Regions from separate parts of the Homo sapiens genome. Here region 1 is linked to region 2. Evidence: promoter capture Hi-C in 16 types of primary human blood cells and fetal thymus (Javierre and others, 2016). All regions are on one chromosome and are shown on one strand. The core of a region is centred on a gene start or on the middle of the fragment in contact, and the rest is flanking DNA. Distances in the headings are between cores, read along the strand shown. Region 1 overlaps LIPA (lipase A, lysosomal acid type). Region 2 holds the start of STAMBPL1 (STAM binding protein like 1).

Region 1 (3,436 bases), core at 738-3,237, 340 kb after region 2:
TCATTACTTTTTTAATGCAATGATTTATTAAATAGTGTACTTTTTAAAGCAATTTGGTGATTCTGATGCAAGCAGTGACTGCCAGGTGTTTGGAAATTACTATTCAAGACACCTACAGTGTCTTGGTTTAGGGCTTAAATGGTGAGTTGTTTCATATTAAAAATGAAGTTAGCTGAAAAATAAATGGCACAAAATTATGTCCTGAGGTAGAAAGAAGTCCCTGACATATTGTCAGGTGAAAAAAGAAAAGCAAGCTGTAAAACAGTAAGCAGGAGAAAAATCAATCTATTTCTACATCTACTATTTCTATCCATGTCTTTAACAGCATCTTTTTGAAAAGAGGTATAGAATAGAATGCAGAGACATTCAATATCTATGGATATGCATTTCCTCTCTGTCTAGGGTTATAGAATGATTTTATTTTCATTTTAAGATAATTTTTTTCTAGATGTAGTTTCTAAATTTTCTAGAATGAACATGACTTATTTACATGATAAAATAATCAAAACTGTATTTCAAAAGTCAGGGGCCCCCATTCACATCTATCATTGGTTTAGCTCCAGTTTATTCACTGCTATTCCAAGCATATTGTGATCAGGGGTTAGTGTTGAAACAGCGGTTTCTATCTCCAAAACGGACTTAAAATCACTCTTTATGAAGCAACACAGAAATAAAAAAAATCTAGGACTCAATGAGAAGCAGATGGAGGGGAGGAAACAGGAGGAGGAAAAGAAAGCTGGGGGAGAAGGAAAGGGAGAGAATATATTAACCTGAGACTTGAGGAAGGGAGAGGAGGGAAAAGAAAAATGTCAACCCCAGTAGCTGTTTGTGAACCCACGTATAACACAGTGTGCCCCACCACAGGTATCAAAAGCAACACAAGCACGATGACAAAAACCCAGGACTCTGGGGAAGAAAACCAGATCAGATTTGTAAGCAGGTTGTCTTTCTATTTGGAAAGGGTTTGCATGCCCAGACCTTTCTGATGTTGATTTTACATGAACCCCAAATGCACTCCTGGAATGCCTACCTGGCTCCAGTGTAACATGTTTTGCACAGAAGTTCCAGCAGGAGAATGTGTTGTATATACATCCACTCTAGACTGCAAAATAAATACATTGAAATGAAGAATGAAAACAGCATTAAGGTGGCATTGATAATAAACATTGTATTTTGCCCTTCAAAGCACTAAAAACTAGAGCCATAATCTCAAGTATGTGAGATGAGAGGTAGAAAAAAATTATTTGACTAAAAATCTGCCCTATAAAAATACATACAACCACATACAAAGTCCATATGAAGGAGGTGCAACAACATGGTAAGCACGGGACTGTGTGGGTTTCGTTTACAGGGCATTTTCATTTTGTTCTTCATGCTTTCCTGAATTTCCCAAATTTCATATAACAATCACACCTTGCTTTAATTATCAGACAAAAGAAAAATGGCACTGAAATTCCTTAGGGCCTTTATTCCAGGATTTTAACCCTTTTTTTCAAAATGCCACATGACAAACTAACAAACATATTTAGAAACACGGGCATAGTATTGGCCAAGGGTTTATATTTTATAAAATAAAATGGGTTTACATTTTATAAAATGTACTTTTATAAATACACACACACTGCAAGCATACACTTATGTGTATGTAAATGGCCGTTCCAAATTTAAATACTTATAGTAATTTTTGAAAATTTGTGTATTTTAGATTCGGGGGGTCCATGTGCAGGTTTGTTACAAGGGTGGATTGCATGATGCTGAGATGCGGGCTTCTATTGATCCCATAACCACAGTACTCAATATTGGCTATAGTACTCAACAGGCTTCAGCCCTTGTCCCTCTCCCTCCTTCCTTTTGGAGTCCCCACTGTCTATTGTTCCCATCTTTATGTTTATACTTATAATGATTTCTAAAAGAAACAAATCACTAGAGTAATTATAAATATTACAGCTTAATTTGTGACAGATCTCCTCATTCAATAATCTCCATCTAGGTACAACATAAGAAGGTGACCACAGTCAGCCTGAGGATGGCAGCAGGTGGTACCGTATTCTAGGCATTGGCCAAAGTTCATGCTTGTGCCTCTCAAATGAAAGACTCTTTAGAGTTCTGATGAGGTCATTCCCACCTCTCCCATATCATTCAACACAAATAAGCACATTCACAGATAAAAAAAAAAATCAAATCTTACTATAAACATGCATACCATATTTAAATTTCTCTCATTAAATCCACACAGAAGAAAACAGAGATTTCCACAGAGCTCCTTCAGTATGACATGAGTGCAAACGTGGGTACCCAGCCACTTCAAAAACGCACTCTGGGGAAGAAATTCTTTGTCTCCAAATAAGTCCTACAAAATAAAAAGAAACCCAAGAACATCTCAGCATTTCACTCTGGTGCATAAGTCTCCGTGACTCACCTCAGAAGCAGAGACAAGTACCCAATGTCTCCACGAATGGCCTCAGGAGAGAATGGCAACCAGTGGACATCAAATCAGGATGCTTTTGCACAAGTTTACCAAAGCAAAAATCACACACTACAGAGGTGTATTTAAATTCTCCAAATGAAGAGAAGGAGGCAGAAAATCAAATAAGTTTTCAGCGGACTTCTACAGTGGGAAAGGGCCTTAATGATCACCCCTCCCAGGGCCATCCCCAAGTAATTTTCATCTGACTCTGATGGATCGGTGGTTACTTCTAAGAAACAGTCAAGGCTGTGATTGATCAGTAATGTCTGCCAGAGGTGTGCCCATCTAATTCAATGCTACTGGCCAGCAGGCCAAATCCAGCCCATCGCTTGCTTTTTTATTTTGTTTTTTAAAATTTTTTTTATTGGCCAGGCATGGTAGCTCATGCCTGTAATCCCAGCACTTTGAGAGGCCAAGGCAGAAGGACTGCCTAAGCCTAGGAGATTCCATCTTTCCTATTTAAGTCTTCTAAATGGCCCATGAGAGACGTTATACCTCATTTCATGTATATATTTCTATACAGGATTTCATATGTGTGTGTGTGAACATATATTTCATAAAAGACATATAATGCATGCATAATAGAACATCTGGTCTTACCTAGCTTAAAACTCTTTTTCATGAAATCTATTTCCTCCCTGAACAGAGGTTCGGGTGCCACAGCTTTAGGGCAGAGCCCTGATGAAGCTACTGGCTGTGTTTAGGAGCCATATTATAAAATACAATAATGATAGCGTTGTTAGGTCACCCTCAGTGTAGCTAGGGATGGGCTTTTGGGAACATTTCCTATCTCCCATCTCCTACATCCTCTGTGCACAGGCTCACCTCATGGGATAAAGGGCAACTCCACAAATGCTTAAATTATTTTCTCCCAGACTCTCCTTGCTCTCCCTGTGAGGTGGGCAGAGCTGTACTGACACATGCTAACCATGAGTACACGTGGCACCAGTGTGCAGGAAACGACAGGCG
Region 2 (3,348 bases), core at 629-3,128:
GAATCAGAAGAGAAATATATTGGAAAGTCGTTAAGTAGCATACCAAAGAGACAGGAAGTTTGGCAAATAAGTCTCCTTACACAGGAAGGGAAGCTTAGCAGCTGAAATTACAACAGGTGGGTCATCACACCATTCAAATAGCTCACTTAGGACACCACTGACATTGCCGCAGTGTTACCTCTGGCACTACTGTCCCTGAACACAAAACCCACTTCACAGATAATGGAGACATTTCTAAAATGTTTCTTCTTGAAACACATAATCCAGATTCAAATAACTGTACAGGAGTCTCTGAGGCTGATGTTGGGTCACAAAATGGTACTCTAGCCGCTGGGGAGCAGGGGACGATGGGTATTGGGCCATTTTGGCTTTTATGAGAATTTGGATGCTAGATAGCAAGACCATGATCAATGACCACTCTAAATACGTACGTGGAATTTTTTGTTTCATAATGCTTTTTAGGAATCTGGCTAACCTTCTTAATTACCACTGAATTTTAAATTGTCCAGTAGGTCATGAGATTATCTGGTTCAATACTGCAAACTCAAATGCCTACCATATTCTCAAATGTCAGTGAGGTGGGGGTGTATGGGAGTGGTGGGGACTGTGGAAAACTGAAGAGTGTCTTCACAGTCTAAAGGCGACACCTGCTATTCAGCTTCAGCTGATGGTTGCTAGAACTCGCCATGGACCAAATGTCTGATGTTACGATTTTACAGAAAATGTGAAAAGTCTGAATTTCTGTGAAATTTCCTAACTTCAACATTTGGAACCAACTTAAAACTAAGCAAAACAACACTGTTGCTTCTTAAAAATCAAGGCTGCAGGCTGCCTCCAACAATCAAACTCTTCATTTAAAAAAAAAAAAAGAATCCAGGGAGATGAGGCTTAAGAAGGTGAAATGCTTGAGACCAAATAACTCAGTTGGTGGCTGAGCCAGGGCTAGAATTTTGGTTTCCAGAGGAAAGGCTAACTAAGAAAAGCCAGTGTTTCCCCACCCCACTCTGCAGCCATTTCTCTCACTTGGAAGTAAGCTCCCAACCAAGCTCAAGAAAAGCGACTCTATTTCATCCAGCAGCAGCAGTCTCCATAAAATGTTTATCAGTTAATAGAACCTGTGAAGCCAATAGAAACAGCTTTCAGTGTTGGATCAGAGTTTAAATTTCAGCTTCTACTGCTTTCTAGGTGAGTAACCTGGGATAAATTATTTTACTTCTCTGTCTCTCGTTCATGGAAAAAACAAAAACAAAAACAAAAAATGAGTCCCTTTTATATACAGGGTTGTGGCAGATGGACTAAGATTTTGTGTACCGACTGCCTGACACAGTGCCAGAACTGTAGTAAGAACACCACACGTGATAGTAACATAACATCCAGGAGATATTCTAATACTTCTTATTTTCCAAGTACACACAAATTGGGGGTAGGGGGAAGGGCTAAGATGCTTAATAGTGGGCGTAGCCAGTTGTGGATAAATATCAAAAAGGGAATCCTAACATGAAGTATAAGTGGGATTTTCACCAAAACCCTATCCTTCCCCAGACTCCAGTGACAGTTTAACGGTCAGCTGCATCAAGGCTTGTGTACTGTGCAGTCTTAAAAGGCACCACTCCTGTCCATCTCGGTGAAATTGATGGTGGAGCAAAAGGGAGTTTAGGTGGTTCCGGTCTGGGGAGAAGACGTGCAGGGTTTCAGATGCGAAAGTCGCACCCAACCGCTTCACTCGGGCTCTAGGCCATCCGCAGGGGCCCTGCTTCCTTCCACCTGCGAGCTTTTTCTGCAGAATGCGGGAAGCCGCCGCCGCCGCCACAGAGGAGGGGGCGGAGGCAGAGGCGGAGGCGGCACCCAGGGGCCGGGGCAGGGGAGGCCGGGACCATCGCAGTGACAATTTATTTTCCTGCAGCAGCGGCAGCAGGGACGGTTGCTGCAGGTTCGGGGTCGGCCGGCCTGCGCGTGGGCTTGCGAGGACGCTGTTCGTCCCCTGCGCTGGGGTGTCCGACAGCGAGGAGGAGAACGACGCACGGAGCCCGCGCGACTGGAACCAGCAAAGCTCCATCTGTCGGCAGAGGAGAAGGGGGAGGAGGCACGGCCGAGGCAAACGAGCGGACGCCTCGTCGCCGGGTGCCGGTATCACCCCGCTGCAACGCCTTCCAGCAAAAGCCACCGCGGCCCGGGTTGCAGCAGCCGGACGGATGCCAAGGCCACACGGCAGCCACGGGGGCAGCCGTCGCAGTCGCCGTCCCACACGGGCTGCGGACACCAAGGGTTGCTAGTGAGTAGCGGCGCGCGCGCGTGAGTGAGAGCGCGCACCGGACGGGGAAGTGCGCACGGCGGGTGCGTCTGCCTCGTGGCCTGGCGCGCGCCGGCCCTTCCGCTGGCAGCGTCCGGTCCCGGGCTGGCTCTAGGGGAGGAAAAAATGCACTTTGGCGGCTGATCGCTTCCTTCCTGCCAGTCATGCAATCGGCCGCCTCCATCGGCGCCGCCTGTATGCGCCCCTCCGCTGGGCCCTCTGGGTTAGTTTCACCTTGATAGGGAGGCAGGAAGACCTGGCTGCTGGTGGCAGGGCGGGACTCTGGCCGTGACCTATACGTGGGTGCGCCTGTTTTTTTGGTTCAGCCCTGGGTTGCAGCCTTGGAGATGATGTCGACCTTGGGAGAGACCACTGCACTGTCTCTAGCGGCGCGGTGTGGAGGAGGGAGGGGCGAGGGTTAGAAAAACGGACCTTTACCCCGGCCGAGCAGGTGCCATGCCTTTCCAGATGATGTTACTTTTATGCCCTTTATGAGCGACTAAGACATTGCCCCTCACCTGAATAACTTAAAGCTTTCGCTGAAAGCCCCCAGTGAGATGCACAAAGAAATGGAATGTCTCCAAAACATATTTTTTTCAGAACTTTCTCTAAAACAACCCACGCTGCTGATACCCCCAGAGCCTAAGGTGCCATAATTGCTGAAGTTTAAAAGAAAATTTATGTAAGGAATAAGTAATTCAGGAAACGGAACCCAATCTAGAGGTTTGAAAAAAAAAATCAAGTGCCTGGGAAGTGGGGTGGGGTGGCTTGCTTCCTGGAAATCAGTGTTCGGTAGTAAGTAAAAAAGACAGCTTTCAAAGTAAGCCCCAGTGAGCACACTGCTTTCCAAACATCTTGCTCATTACTGACAATAACATGAAGTCCTGGATTTTAAGCTATTTCCGAAGACATAATAGATATCACTAGGATGCTTGTTTATGGTCTCATGATTTAAGGCCCTGTCAAGGTCAATAACGTAGATTTGTTCCAGCAGATAAATTATACCTGAATGTTTGATTGTTCGTGTCAATTTTTTTGAGGGTAGGTTTTGACGGTTG

The links. The method cuts DNA at HindIII sites, captures the fragments that hold promoters and counts their contacts. A CHiCAGO score of 5 or more calls a contact.
Region 1: a fragment that was not itself captured here is called in contact with the fragment with the promoter of STAMBPL1 in region 2 in 2 of 17 cell types (activated CD4 T cells and naive CD4 T cells); the score reaches 6.8 in activated CD4 T cells.

The regions. Positions count from the first base shown.
Region 1 is chr10:89,221,481-89,224,916 of GRCh38, forward strand. LIPA (lipase A, lysosomal acid type) reads right to left here. Exons shown (of 10, transcript NM_000235.4): 7 at 2,204-2,350; 8 at 1,031-1,102. Among named protein-coding and RNA genes, the nearest start is that of CH25H, 16 kb to the left of the region's middle. The HindIII fragment of the contact is 9,936 bases long and covers 1-3,436 here.
Region 2 is chr10:88,878,367-88,881,714 of GRCh38, forward strand. It overlaps STAMBPL1 (STAM binding protein like 1), which reads left to right and starts at 1,879. Exons shown (of 11, transcript NM_020799.4): 1 at 1,879-2,272. LOC124902551 reads right to left here and starts at 2,298. Exons shown (of 1, transcript XM_047426134.1): 1 at 1,368-2,298. The coding sequence starts at 2,056. The coding sequence ends at 1,529. RefSeq lists a silencer at 1,768-1,897 and an enhancer at 2,478-2,587. The HindIII fragment of the contact is 2,730 bases long and covers 92-2,821 here.